Regions from separate parts of the Homo sapiens genome. Here all the other regions are linked to region 1. Evidence: promoter capture Hi-C in 16 types of primary human blood cells and fetal thymus (Javierre and others, 2016). All regions are on one chromosome and are shown on one strand. The core of a region is centred on a gene start or on the middle of the fragment in contact, and the rest is flanking DNA. Distances in the headings are between cores, read along the strand shown. Region 1 holds the start of TTI1 (TELO2 interacting protein 1). Region 2 overlaps MROH8 (maestro heat like repeat family member 8). Region 3 overlaps RPN2 (ribophorin II). Region 4 overlaps RPN2 (ribophorin II). Region 5 holds the start of ACTR5 (actin related protein 5).

The links. The method cuts DNA at HindIII sites, captures the fragments that hold promoters and counts their contacts. A CHiCAGO score of 5 or more calls a contact.
Region 2: a fragment that was not itself captured here is called in contact with the fragment with the promoter of TTI1 in region 1 in 1 of 17 cell types (fetal thymus); the score reaches 5.4 in fetal thymus.
Region 3: a contact is called between a fragment that was not itself captured here and the fragment with the promoter of TTI1 in region 1, in 1 of 17 cell types (M2 macrophages). The highest score is 5.2, in M2 macrophages.
Region 4: a fragment that was not itself captured here is called in contact with the fragment with the promoter of TTI1 in region 1 in 1 of 17 cell types (M2 macrophages); the score reaches 6.2 in M2 macrophages.
Region 5: the fragment with the promoter of ACTR5 here is called in contact with the fragment with the promoter of TTI1 in region 1 in 9 of 17 cell types (neutrophils, monocytes, non-activated CD4 T cells and 6 more); the score reaches 17.1 in neutrophils.

Annotation. Positions count from the first base shown.
Region 1 is chr20:38,032,110-38,034,926 of GRCh38, reverse strand. TTI1 (TELO2 interacting protein 1) reads left to right here and starts at 1,471. Exons shown (of 8, transcript NM_001303457.2): 1 at 1,471-1,523. RPRD1B (regulation of nuclear pre-mRNA domain containing 1B) reads right to left here and starts at 1,181. Exons shown (of 7, transcript NM_021215.4): 1 at 829-1,181. The coding sequence starts at 979. LOC124904898 (a long non-coding RNA gene) reads right to left here and starts at 821. Exons shown (of 2, transcript XR_007067579.1): 1 at 1-821. RefSeq lists enhancers at 549-1,144, 1,345-1,614, 1,145-1,740. The HindIII fragment of the contact is 7,242 bases long and covers 1-2,817 here.
Region 2 is chr20:37,172,678-37,175,494 of GRCh38, reverse strand. MROH8 (maestro heat like repeat family member 8) reads left to right here. Exons shown (of 25, transcript NM_152503.8): 3 at 1,379-1,500. Among named protein-coding and RNA genes, the nearest start is that of RPN2, 5.2 kb to the left of the region's middle. The HindIII fragment of the contact is 1,721 bases long and covers 552-2,272 here.
Region 3 is chr20:37,199,595-37,202,411 of GRCh38, reverse strand. The region is part of intron 4 of RPN2 (ribophorin II); the gene reads right to left. Among named protein-coding and RNA genes, the nearest start is that of MROH8, 21 kb to the right of the region's middle. The HindIII fragment of the contact is 680 bases long and covers 1,134-1,813 here.
Region 4 is chr20:37,224,578-37,227,394 of GRCh38, reverse strand. RPN2 (ribophorin II) reads right to left here. Exons shown (of 17, transcript NM_002951.5): 11 at 1,593-1,707. Among named protein-coding and RNA genes, the nearest start is that of GHRH, 36 kb to the left of the region's middle. The HindIII fragment of the contact is 5,718 bases long and covers 1-2,817 here.
Region 5 is chr20:38,747,128-38,749,944 of GRCh38, reverse strand. ACTR5 (actin related protein 5) reads right to left here and starts at 1,485. Exons shown (of 9, transcript NM_024855.4): 1 at 1,092-1,485. The coding sequence starts at 1,466. RefSeq lists silencers at 1,250-1,439, 1,740-2,009 and an enhancer at 1,388-1,889. The HindIII fragment of the contact is 9,906 bases long and covers 1-2,817 here.

The DNA.
Region 1 (2,817 bases), core at 222-2,721:
AAGGCACAGACAGGTTAAGTTGCTGGGGTCAGTAAGGCGGCAAAGTCAGGCTTAAATTCTAGGCAGTTGGCAGAGGCAACATGCTGCAAGTGTCCAAGCCAGTGCCTGGCACATAACAGAATGAGTTCAATGAATTGTCTGTCAGAACCTGAGCAGGGCCTGAAATCAATGACAACTGCATGAGAGAGGAGAGGAGAGGAGAGGTAAGGTCTGGGTGGCCCCTTAACCTAAGATGGGAGAGACTACCTACTTCACAGGGCTGTTCTAAGGACTGAGTGCGAGGATACACACAAAGGTCTTAGTATAGTGACTGGTATGAAGTAAAGGCTTTGTAAGGGGTAGCTATCCTTGCCTCCCTCTTACAGATGAGAAAACGGAGACACAGGGAGATGAAGAAACTCTCCCAGTATTATTCAGCTGGCAAATAGCTGAGCCAGGACTCGATCTGCAGAGTCTGACTCCGGAGCCCACTGGCTTTTACTCCAAATACCCAGCACTGGGCCCGACATGCTAGGGCCAGTACGGCAGTGAATGCAGCCGAGATAATAACAGCCACAAATGTCAGGGGGAAACTGAAGGGAAAATGGCTTGATGAACTAGAAGTCTGGACACCTGAGTCCCAGTCCGTGGACCCTCAGGCAAGTACCTTAAACCTTCCCGGGCCTCAGTTTCCTTCTTCGAGAAATGGGGCTAACTTTGTCTCCCATCTCAGAAGCTCGATCAGGCCTGGAAAGCAAGGCTCAATGAAGAGGCTTAGAGGGGCCTAGGTTGTATGTGGGCGAGAGGACAATCCGGGGACCGTCCAGGGGGTGGGGATTTGGTGTTTACCTTTGCGGAGCTCGCGGTGCCACACGGAGACGATGGGTCCCGCGTGCTTGCGGTGGTGGATGAGCCAAAGGGACAGGGTCTGCACGCTCTGCTGAGAGTTGCTCAGCTCCGAGAGCTTCTTCTCCAGCGCCGACTCAGAGAAGGAGGACATGGTGGCGGCAGTGAGGCCCGGCAGGGAGCGGCCTGGGCCGCCCAGTGCGGCGGGAAGAGCGACGGCACGAGGCCGGGGCCTCACCTGACAGGCTGCGGGACTTTTTACCGACTGACAGACTGCCAGGGGTGCGAGAAGGGGGAGGGGATGGGTCTCCGCAGTAACAGCCGCCCGCGCCGCCGCCACAAGATGGCCACCCGACCTCTCACCCTGCCGCGAGAGCGAGGTCAAAGGGCAAGGGCCGGAGCAGAGGGGCACCGAGAGGCGTCGGAGCTCTAGAAAACCGTCCCTTTGGAGGCGGCGGCCGCTCTGAACCTCGCGCAGAGCACTTCGAAGGAGACAGAGCGAGGCAAGGAGAGTAGTTCCCCGGGCCCCCGGAAAGAGCTTTGACCGCTCGAGCCTGCACACCGGCGCAGTGGATCTCGCCGGAACCCTTTTTCCCGCTCCCTCGGAACCTTTCTGGCGCGATACGGCGCGCTACTTAGCGCGTCACTTCCGGCGAGGCAGAGGAGGCGGGAGAGTGAGAGAAAGGCTGGAAGACGAGGTAAGGGAAGAGTGGCGGGAACCAGAGGGAGCCCAGCAGCTGGGACCCTGTAGAGGGGTATCCTGAGGGGACATTGAGTCTGAGAGATCATGATCTGGATATGGGAGGGGGATTTCCTTTCTAATCTGGCGGGCCCCAGGCCGCATCTTTCCTCCATATGTGTTCGGCTCTCTGGCTGTCCCCCAAAACACTTAGTTTTGGTTCTTCCAAGCCACCCACGTGCCCTTTTCACGCCTCCACGCCCTGGCGCTCGTTCTCTGTCCGAAAGTGACATCCCCTTTCTCACCTGGTGAGCTCCTACTCAGCCCCCCGGAGCACCCTTTAATGTCCTGTTTTGACCTTTTAGTCTGTAACAGCGCCGTCATGAAACACACATTTGGGCTCTCGGCTCTTAAGTGGGTTCTCACTCAGGGTATTATTACGTGCTGCTTTTGCCGTCTGCGGGTCCAGTTGACTTTTTCGAACTTAAGTGAGGTGTTAACTTTAGGGAAAAGGTGGAGGGAACTAACTTAGCCTTCCCAATGTGTCTGTTGACCTCATGTTGAGACACACTATTTGAGGCCTGGCGCAACGTCTCTTGCTTGTAATCCCAACCCTTTGGGAGGCCGAGGCGAGAGGATAGCTTGAGGACTGGAGTTCAAGACCAGCCTGGGTAACAGCGAAAATTAGCCAGGCATGGTGACGCTCACCTGCAGTTCCAGCTACGCGAGAGGATACCTTGAGCCCAGGAGTTAGAGGTTACAGTGAGCTATGATCGTGCCACTGCACTCCAGCCTGGGCGATGGAGCGAGACTCTTCTCTGAAACAAAACAAAACACTATCTGAGACTCTAAACCTTGACCCTATTTTTTTTTTAAGTTTTAAATCCCAGGTATCAAAGCAGCAGAGAAATTTTGTTTTTCTTACTGCCACGGGGGTGATGGTAGGGAGTTAAGTTATAGACATAAGAGGGTTTTAAAATTTCCTGATCGTGGTATAACTTCCTAGTTGTGGGCAGACTCTAGTTTAGGAGACGTTCTTCTAGTTGATGCCTGCTTTTGCTCTTATTGCACTGTATTGCAGTTCTTTGCTTACATGCTTTTACCCTTCCTCCAGACTGGAATCATAATCATAGCTAACGCAGTGAGAGGTTACTATGTGCTAGACACAATTCCCACACAGTAACTCATTTAATCCTCACAACAAAGCTGTGAGGTATTATATTATCCCCCTTTGGACAGCGTAGGAAACAGGCTCAGAGAGGTTAAGTGACCTACCCAAGATCACATTACTAAGACTTGAGGGAAGGGGCTGC
Region 2 (2,817 bases), core at 163-2,662, 860 kb after region 1:
TTTTTTTTAGTAGAGATGGGGTTTCACCCTGTTAGCCAGGATGGTCTCAATCTCCTGAACTCATGATCCGCCCTCCTCAGCCTCCCAAAGTGCTGGGATTACAGGTATGAGCCACCGCTCCTGGCCAATTTTTTACTTTTTTGTAGAGATGAGGTCTCACCGTGTTGCCCAGGCTAGTCTCGAAGTCCTGAGCTCAAGCAGTCCTCCCACTTCAACCTCCCAAAATGCTGAGATTACAGAGTGAGCCACCATACCCAGCCTCCATAAGTTTTTTTTCATGTATGCCAACATTTGTGTGTGTGTGTTTCTGTGTGTATACACATATACTTATACTTTTGTGAAAATAGTTTTGTTTTAATGAAAAATGTCATATCCATTGTTTGACAGCTTGCTTTTTCTTTCATGAATCTATGCTAAACATTCAGTAAATAGAGACCTGCTCAATCATTTACTCTGCCAATAATTGTTGAGCACTTCTGTATGTCACTGTTCTAGACTCCTGGGATACATTCATGAACAAAGCAGCCAAAGATTCTTGCCCTCATGAAGCTTACATTTTAGCAGGAGGAAATAAATGACAATGAACATCATAAACAAGTGAAAGATATATTGGAAGGTGTTACGTGCTATGGTAAAAAGAAAAAGTAGGAAAGGGTAAGGAAGATAGAGGGAGTTTGGTGAGGTGTTCTACCTCAATCTGGTTTTTTTGATGGGTTTGTTTGTTTTTTGAGATGGAGTCTTGCTATGTCACCCAGGCTGGAGTGCAGTGGCACAATCTCGGCTCACTACAACCTCCACCTCCCAGTTGAAGTGATTCTCCTGCCTTAGTGTCCCGAGTAGCTGGGATTACAGGCATGTGCCACCATGCCCGGCTATTTTTTGTATTTTTAGTAGAGACCAGGTTTTGCCATGTTGGCCAGGCTGGTCTTGAACTCCTGATCTCAGGTGATCTGCCCGCCTCAGCCTCCCAAAGTGCTGAGATTACAGGCGTGAGCCACCTGCACCCAGCATTGTTTTTAACAGCAGCATAGTATTTCTTACCTATCCATTCACTCCTAATGAGACTGACAACATGCTAGGTAGGTATTGGGGATACAAATGTGACCATGTAGACGAGGGTTCTCTCTAATGGAGTTTATAGTCTGATAGGAGACAGTCAAACAAATAAACCAAATGAGCAAGGTAATTGTAGGTGGTGGTTAAATACCATGAAAAAAATAAGAAGGTAACTGTGGGGCCAGGATGGTGGGAGCTACTTAATCTAGATTGGTGATGAATAAATGCCTCTCTCAGAAAGTGACATTGAGGCTTTCAAATAAATGATGAGACAGAAGCAGTCCTGGAAAACTAATTTTTCGCATCTCCTCTTTATTCCTAGGATCTGTAGTCAGGAAGAAGTAGTGATCCCCTGTGCCTATGACAGTGATTCAGAAAGTGTGGATTTGGAGCTGAGCAACTTAGAGATTATTAAAAAAGGCTCAAGTAGCATTGAACTGACAGGTAAAAAGGAGAAAGGACTAGAAAGGGGAGGGGAGGGGAAAAGAGAATGTATTTTCAACTCAGGCCAAGAGGTATTGATTGAGTACTTGCTGGGTGACCAGCCCTTGACTAGACTTTGATGATGAATTTGGTCCCTGACTTTGAGACCTTGAAATACAGTTGGCAAAATGAGATACATGGTTCGTGATGTCCAGGAAACTAAGGTTGGTCCTGAGACAGTTCTGCAGAAGAGTGTGAGTGCTTGAGGGATTCTGAGGAGGGAAAGGGCAGTGTGGGATACCTTGGAGTGGGAGGACTTTATGCAGAAGGTAAGATCTGGATTGGGCTTCAGAATAACTTTCATTCTACAAAACATGTATTGAGTACCAGGAGCTGGGAATACAACAGTAGACATGACCAACATGGTCACTGCCCTCATAGAACTTACATTATTGTGCAGAAAAGAGACCAAAAAGAGTAAACAGTCACTGAAGTAACTACAACTTGTAGTAAGCAGTATGGAAGAACAGGCTGAGACAAAAATAAGGGCAATAGGAACCTACTTGAAACTCTGGTTGTCAGAGAACACCTGTATGAGACCATGAGTGCTATTTAAATCTAAAGGAGGCTTGAAAGATGTGAGAGTAACTCATGTGAGTATAGGGAGTACTACAGATAGATGGGGACAGCATGTGCATGACACAGGAAAGATCCTGGTGTGTTTGAAGCTACCTTCATTCATTCATACATTCATTCAGCAAATACTTAATGAAGCCCTCCTGTGCTCTAAGCTTAATCTAGCAGCTGGAGATATAGCATCGAACAGAACAGACACAGTATACCTACGGATGAACAGGCAAATGGAACTCAGTGCAATCAGTGTGATGGGGGTGGGAGAGCCAGAGTGGATACAGAGCGGTTTATTAGTGACTTGGGGATACTTAGCCAAAATAGGCAAAAAGGGCATACACGAAAGGCATCCTGGAGCTGAGACTTGAAGGATGAGTAGGAGTTAGCAAGGCAAAGATAGGTAAGGGAAGGTGGGGGAGAAGAAGGAGAAAAATGCAGGCAGAAGGAACAGCCTGTGCACAGATCAGAATGAGAACATGGCTTCAATTATTGCAATTAGTGGATGATAGGAATATGGCAGGAAGTGGGTAGAGTTTACTGAAGAGGCATTCAAGAAATCAAAAAGAATGCAAAAGTAGAGTGGTGGCCGGGCACGGTGGCTCACATCTGTAATCCCAGCATTTTGGGAGGCTGAGGCGGGTGGATCACCTGAGGTCAGGAGTTCGAGACCTTGCTTGGCCAACATAGCGAAATCCCATCTCTACTAAA
Region 3 (2,817 bases), core at 224-2,723, 830 kb after region 1:
CAAGAACATAACAATTTAGATTCTCTCCATGGGAAACTCATTCCATTAAGATGACAAGTTGGAAAACAGCAGAGTCGCAATTTACAGAGAGACAAGCCCCAGAGTATTCAACGACACCTATGGGATGCTTGCTGTTATCATACACTTGAGAAAATGAAACCTGAATTTCCAAACAAGACAAAAATCACACATCTGCCCGTGATAAACGCTGTGCTCAGAAAAGGCAGTTAAGATAGCCTAGAAAGAACTTCTCAATTAAGATATCATTTTTTTCTCTTTGGAATGAGAGAGTGCCGTGCTGGTAACAACCTCAGAAGTTTTAGAATGAAATTAATCCACTGAGTTTTAGAAAGTTTTGTCACTGGCTTTAATTACTTATTCCCCAGCCAGCAATTTCTTTTTCTCTGGAGCATAGTACTGTATTCGAACACTAAGAAAGCAGATCTTATCTTGCTAATATATAGCAGATGATTCAGAGAAATTGATTTATGACAGACTACAATGAGATCTTCTCAGGTGGTTCATTCAAATCTACAAGTATTTTCTTTTTTTCCATTCAAGACAAGTTTACAAATATACACTTCCTAGAAAAAGCCCATTTAAATATAGAAGGCCCATTCAGAAGAGTTCTAATTTATATCAGCTTGCCTTTAATAGCGCAAATTAGTAGTAATATAAGGCAACCTACCAGTTGGATTTCACAATGACCCTACGAGACATTCTCCAGGTTTGCATATGAGAACACTGAGGTTTAGGCGGGCTAAACAACCCACTCATGGTCACAGAGGTTGAGTAGAAGAATGGATTTGAACACAGTTCTTTCTGCTCCAAAGCGTATGTTCTTCCTACCTATGAGCTTTCTACAAGACAACAGAAACACAAAAGTATAGTTTCATCCTTTATTAACTCCGTTGGGTACAGACCATGTGCCAGGCTCTCTAAGCACTGCAAGTAAAGCTTATGGCTGGGTGTGGTGGCATGTGATTATAGTCCCAGCTACTCAGAAGGCTAAGGTGGGAGAATCGCTCACGCCCAAGAGTTTGAGGTTGTAGTGAGCTTTAAATATGATCGCATTGCACTGCAGCCTAGATGACACAGTGAGACCCTGTCTCAAAAAAAAAAAAAAAAAAGCTTATGACCTAACATACAAATAACAACAACGAAGGAAGTAACAAACTCTCTAAGAAGGGGGACCTGTTTGTTAGGGACCTAACAAACAAATGGTCCAGAAAAGGAACTCCGTTTCCTACACGCCCACCAAGAACCAGGCACTGCGCTAGGGTCTTCACACCTATTATCTCATTTAATCCTGTCAGTTGCTTTGATGTAAGAATTATGGGTTTCATTTTAAAGGCAAGGCTCAGAGAAGTTAGAAATTTGGCCAAAGTCAGACACAAGGAATGAAATAGCTGGTGTTCAAACCTAAGTCTGTCTGACTCCAAAGTGGACGTACTTCCCTTGTACTTCTTCCTGGGGTTCTGGGGTTTTGAGGAAGGGGATTTTCCCTTCTGCTTGGAAGGAAATGGGAATTTTTTTTGTAGAAGGTAGCATCAAAGTAAGGCACAGGCACTAACAGTGGCATCATGGCATGAGATGATGGTGACTGGAGAAGCATTCCCCATGAGGGATTAAAAGCAGATATCAAAATATGTCACCTGAAATCAAAGGCCCAAAAGGGCCAAGCACTGGACAAAGTGTGTACAAAATGTCAGCCCTAGAGTCACTGATGATTGACCATGTGAATATAGGGAGGGTGTGAGGAGGGACAGAGAGGGAATGTCAATTGCCTGTGAACCCTGTCCTTAACAAAGCTTTAAGTTTACAGAAAATCTGGTTGTCAGCAAAAAAACAAAAAACAAACAAAAAAACCTGGGAAACAATCTCACTGTTTTGAAAGGGGGATTTGGTATCACCAACCTCTTGCTAAACAACGAACGGGATTCCAGAACGGTGCTCCACACCCTCCTTCAGGGTTTGCAGTGAAACGGTGAACACAAATAAAATGACAAAAAAAATATTGTTTTAAAGGAGCAGTTTAAGTGTTAAAAAAAAAAAAATTACAACCGGCCTGGACAACACAGACAGGCCCCATCTCCACTAAAAACTAAAAAAATTAGCTGGGCAGCCGGGCGCTGTGGCTCACGCCTGTAATCCCAGCACTTTGGGAGGCCAAGGCAGGTAGATTGCTTGAGGTCAGGAGTTCAAGACCTGGCCAACATGGTGAAACCCTGTCTCTACTAAAAATACAAAAATTGGCCAGGCGTGGTGGCGCGCCTGTAATCCCAGCCACTGAAGACGCTGAGGCAGGAGAACTGCTTGAACCCGGGAGGCGGAGGTTGCAGTGAACTGAGATCGCGTCACTGCACTCTAGCCTGGGTAACAGAGTAAGACCACGTCTCAAAAAAAAAAAAAAATTAGCTAGGCGTGGTAGTTTGCACCTGTAGTCCAGCTACTCGGGAGGCTGAGGTAGGAAAATCACTTGAGCCCAGAGTTCAAGGCTGCAGTGAGTTTGATCATACCATTGCACTTCAGCCTGGGTGACAGAGTGAGATCCTGTCTCTAAATAAATAAAAATTTAAAACTACATATATTATCACTTAAGAGCTTAGCAAAAAACACCCTGAAGTTACAATATTTCCATTTATAACAAATAGGAAAGGTGCTTCTCCTTCACCTAAGCCTTTTGCAGAGTAGTAGAGTCTGATTCCTAGAATACTCCACCCTCTGAGCAACCACCTCACCCACCAGATGCTGTCTTTCACAACTTCCAGGGATCCTGAGAGCCCCCACTTTGCAGAGCCTCCACTGCCAACATGT
Region 4 (2,817 bases), core at 143-2,642, 810 kb after region 1:
ACCTGGAAGGTCTCTAGGCCATGATTCTACAGCAGAATTCTGGATGAGACAAGTATTCAGTGAAAGTTACACTTCCTCACTAACTCTCCTTGCTCTAATCCTAATCCTACTAGTTTAGTCTTTTACTTTCTTCTCTTTGTACTCTTCCTTCCCTTGTGCTATTTGGTTGGCAAATGTCATTCTGGGAAGAAGCTGGGAAATGCTAAGAGGCTGAAGTACTCAAAGGTCAGTTAGGCTTGGCTAAGGGCCCTAACCAAGCTGTCTGGAGTTTGGGAGTAGGGAGGAGAGAGGAGCAGAGGACTCCCAGGACTGTGGCCATAGAGGAACGTGCTCCTGGGGCACAAGTCCAACAGCTGCAGCTGCAAGAAACAGAAAGCAAGAAGGTTCTCAAGTAAATCCAGTTGCCTCTGAGGTCTGCCCTGAAGCTGCCTCAAGGCAACAAGTCTGCTGGTCCTTGCTAAAGCATCGGTACAGGGTACCCCATACCAAACTAGGTCCCGCATTCCTGTCTTTCAGCATTCAAAGTATTTATCTGAATCTTCCTTCACGTAACACTAAAGGCAGGTTATTCTCCATCAAGGGGGATGACAGGCAGTGTGGGAGTGGGGGTATCTGAGTGGACATGGGGCCATATTAGGTTCTCAGGGGAAAGAGTATATGGTTTGAAAATCTTTTAAATAATAATTTTCATTACTCTATGAAAAAAATAAAGCCTATTGCTTTCATAATACAAAGTAAGCACAAGTTAAAAGGGCTATTCTTCAGAGTCCCACAAATACAAAATCTGCTTTGGCTAGAATAAAAAAATGCTTTGGGTCTTCTTTTGAAATTATTTCAGTATATTCCCTTATTTATTTATACATACATACATACACACAAATGAGGTCTCACCATATTGCCCAAGCTGGTCTCCAACTCCTGGGCTCAAGTGATCCTCCTACCTCTGCCTCCAAAGTGTTGGGATTACAGGCGTGAGCCACCATGCCTGGCCAGCACATTCCCTTTTTTAAATCAGAAAGAAAAAGCCTCGAGTCTAGTGCCATGCTTATAATCCCACCACTTTGGGAGGCTGAGGCAGGCGGATCACCTGAGGTCAGGAGATGAGAACAGCCTGGCCAACATGGTGAAACCCTGTCTCTGCTAAAAATACAAAAATTAGCTGGGCATGGTAATGCATGCCTGTATCCCAGCTACTTGGGAGGCTGAGGTAGGAGAATCGCTTGAACCTAGGAGGCAGAGGTTGCAGTGAGCTGAGATCACACCACTGCACTCCATCCTGGGTGACAGAGCAAGAGTCCATCTGAGGGAGGGAGGGAGGAAGGAATGACCTTAATTAAGTGCAAATCTGCCTTAAGTACCTCTCCTCAATACCAGCTAACTTTTTAGAAAGAAGGGTGTATCCCAGGTAAAGGACTACAACCAGTAGAAGGGTGAGAGTGTCATGTGGGAGAACCTGATGGACTGTCAGGGTTCGGTCAAAACCTGAAAGCAGGAACGTGGAATTCTCTCTAGTCCATGTTATAGACCACATTGTAAACTCTAGTATCCATTCACATTTCAGGTTAAGAGAACTGTCTAGGTGTCTTCCTGACCTGGTGAGGAGTGAGTTCAGCACCAGTGTTCACATCTACCAGCTGGAAGAACAAGGCGAAGTTCTGGTGGCTGTCTGCGATGAATGTGCCCTTGGCTTTGGCTGGGTATGTCACCCTGAAAGAGGCATATAGAGTTAGTCTTCAGAGAGGATCAGTATATCTCTGAGAACAGGCAGAAAATATATACTTCACTTCATTGCCTCAACCACCCTCTCCCATAGTAACACTTCTGTTGTGGACAGACAGATGTGGAGAACTGTCTGCAACCTGGGGGCAAATTGGACTGATAAAGCCTGGACTGAGAAAAGTGCAGAATAAACTTCCAGCAGGATCTGGGGAAATGCTGTGTACAGATGCTTGTACCTCTGGGCTTTCACTTCAAGGACCTAAGGCTCTCAACTCCAACAAAGTCAGGCACCAGAGGAGCTCACGTGTGGCCTCTGCAGGCACACAGGAGAGCCGGGCTGGCAGAACCGCAAGGAGAAATAATTACAGGATTGATGCCAGCAGCACACGTGAGCAAAATCGAGACAAGGCAGGTAGGAGACACAAAAGAAAGAAGGGTACTTTCAGCTTTGTCTTTTTTTAATGCTATATTTTTTTCCTGGACACTGTTTCAATTTAGTTTTCTGCCCTGAAACTGGGTTTTAAAAAGTCATTTTCCCAAAAGGCAGACTTGATGAGGAAAACTTCTTTTCACAGCTATCTCCTGGGATTTTAGGGTAAGATGGCCAGGGGATAAACCAGCCAAATGGTTACAGAGCTCAGACCTGGCTTTATTTTATACTCACATTTTACATTTACTCGTAAGTAAGACCAACTCTTCATCTAGGCAGAGAATTAAACAGCAAAGCGCTCGCACAGACATTTCTTCAGTGGATTCTTAAACAGTGCTCTTATCTCCAATATCACTACAAAAATAGCCAACCCAGAGACACAAAGGCCAACTCTATGTGATTTAAAAGGAGTAGCTGCTTGGCTTCCAGCCTCTGGCTAACATCCCATCTTCAAAGAGCCTTGATGGTTCACCCTACTGTCTTCTGGCCTCTATAGCTACCCTAGTTGAGTAAAGTTGGGGTCTGGACTATACCCCAGAAATCTAGATCCCCGCTGAGCCAATAAGGATCTGGGGGAGGGCTGATGAGCAGGCTTCTTACAGCATTCTGGCCCAACTCTGTTCAATTGTTAGTGTCTACTTAGAAGATTATGTTTCAAAAAAAGATTC
Region 5 (2,817 bases), core at 236-2,735, 720 kb before region 1:
ACCCAAAATCCTTATTGCAGGACTGAATTTGCTTTTGGCTTCTTAATCAAAAACCTGATCAGAGGCGATTATAAAACTCCCATCTCATCTTTACTTGAAAATACGAAAGTAGAGTCAATTTAAGTTATTAAGTCAAGGTCCCATCCAAACTGTCAGCAAATCGTGTTGGCTCTATCTTCAAAGTATTTCCAGAATCCAACTGCTTCTAATGACATTCCCTGCTATCTGCCTCATCTAAGCCACCATCATCCCTTACCTGGGTTATTCCAACAGCCTCCTAACTCGTCCCTGTTTCCACCCTATGATCCAAGACAATTCATTCTCCATACAGCAGTAATAGTGATCCTTTTAAAACACAAGTCAGGTCCTTCTTCAGCTCAACACCCTGCCATGGCTCCCCATTTCACTCAGTAAAAGCCTATAAGGTGTGTGATCTGCCTCTCCACTACCTCTCTGACATCCTCTTTCAGGTACTACTCTCCCCCTCACACAGGCAGCCTTGCAGTTAGGATTAGGGCACACTCCTGCCTCGGGGCCTTTTTACTGGCTGCTCCCTCTGCCTGGACCGTTTTTCCTTCAGATATTCACATGGCTTGCTACCTGAATCACCTCCTTCAAGTCCTTGCTCAAACATCACCTTCACGAGTCCTACCCTGACCATCTTACTGAAAAAATGTAACTCCCTCCTCTCCTATCACGGCGTAGAATCTACTATTTCTATGTTTACTGTCTGCCTTTTCATACTAGAATATCTTTCCATAGTATTAACAGCTCCATAAGCACAGGAAGTTTTGTGTTCACACATGTACTCCAAATGCCTAAAAAGTGCCTGACACAGAGTAAGTGCTCAATACGTATTTGTTAATAAATGGGCTTCTTAACAAACAAGCATATATGCCCAAAGGTATGCTCCAAGATACAAGGAGCAGCATTTTATTCGCTGCTACACCCACAGCGCCTAGCATCTGGTCGACTAAAAGACAATCGGAGCTACTGAAGTGACTGTTACCTCTCCGAGAGCAGAGTGAGCGGAGACGAGACCGCACCCCTCCCCTCAAACCCAGCCCAGCCCAGCCTACTCCGCCCTTCACCTGTGAGGAGACACCCAGGTGCTGGAAGCTGTAGTCCAGCAGCAACTCCTGAAGCTCCAGGTTGACCGGCACGTTGCGGTCGAAGGGCGAGCGCAGCATCCAGCGCAGTGGCTCCAGGCTGCCCAGAGCGTTCCCCACCTGCGGGCCCGACGCGCCCCGTGCCCCGCCACGACCGCGGGCGCACACCGCGCGGAACTGCAGGCGCGGCTCGGGACCTGGGTCCTGCCCGGGACACGCCCAGCCAGCGCGGACTTGGAACGACCCGTTGTCCAGCACCAGCGGTACCGGCAGTGGCCCGTGTGCCACCGGGCCGGCCTCCAGCACTGGGTCCGGTGCGGCACGGGCGTCGCGGAACGGGAACACGTTCGCCGCCATCTTGGAGCGCGCGTCCAGCCCCGCCCCTCGGCGCAGTGTCCGCCCAGACGCCGCGAAACCGCGCCCCCGACGTCACGCCGCGCGATTCAGGCCTTTAAGTACCTCGATGCCCCCTCCCTTCTCGAAGCCCGGCCAGCCTTTCCACTTGACTCGCCTCTGGCTGTCAAGGCTGCTTTCAGGATCGCTGAGACGTACCCATTCTGGCTGCGAAATTCTACGTTTCTTAACCTCTCCCCCAATAGCCTATGAGTGCCCACGCCCCTTCACTCTAGCCGGGACGCCCGGTTTGGAAGCCCCGCCCCAAAGCCTATCGCCGCCAGGCCCCGCCCCTTTCTGGCTGCCAGCTTCAGCGCCGCGCTCGGTGGAGCCCCGCCTCTCTGCCTGGCCACGCCCCATTGCCGGGCGCGCACCGTCGGCCGGGCGCGCACCGTCGGCCGGGCGCGCACCTTCGACCGCCGGCGGCCCCGCCTCCGCGTGGCTGTCTCGCCCTCAGTCTTGCGTCCTGGCTAGAAGGGTCCTTTATCTTTTGACGCTTCCTTTACGTTAAGAAATCTCAAACTCTGCCGACTGTTCAATTTCTTGACTAGGGAGCTGACTACTCAGTTCTGTTCACTTTACTAACTCGCACAGACTGTGTCTTCTCACTAAGACACAGTGTTTTCTCAAACCCTGAGAAAAGACTGCTGATTGTTCCCCAAGCATTCCCTCTCTTTTAGTGGCATCACCTCCCACTCCCACGTGGCCATCCGTCTGGCTGCGATCTAGATGCGCTCATGTGACTAAATTCTGGCCAGGAGCGGGTGGGAGAGGAGGCCATGTGTGTGACCCACTCAGTTTTAGCCCTAAAAGCACTCGTCGCGCTCTATCCTGTCGCATTTCCATCTTTTCACTAGCTAAGGGGGTAAGAATTAGAGCAGTTGTTTTACTACAACCTTTTTTTGTGCAGTGGGGCGATCTCGGCTCACTGCAGCCTCGACTTCCTGGACTCAAGTGATTCTCCCGCCTCAGCCTCCTAAGTAGCTGAGATTACAGGCGTGCACCACCACGCCCAGCTAATTTTTATATTTTTAGTAGAGAAGGGATTTCACTATGTTGCCCATGCTGGCCATAACCATTTTGAAAGAAGAAAAAGAATAGAGCAGCTGCCTTGAATCTACTCTACCAGGTCTATAACACTTCAGTTTGAGAGATAAAATCAAATTAGTTACAAAAGATATTGTAAGCGAGAAATGAAACTCCTAACTTATCTCAAGAACCTCTATTAACAGTGTTTGTTGTTGTTGTTGTTTGTTTTTTTTAAGACGGAGTCTGGCTCTGTCACCCAGGCTGGAGTGCAGTGGTGTGATCTTGG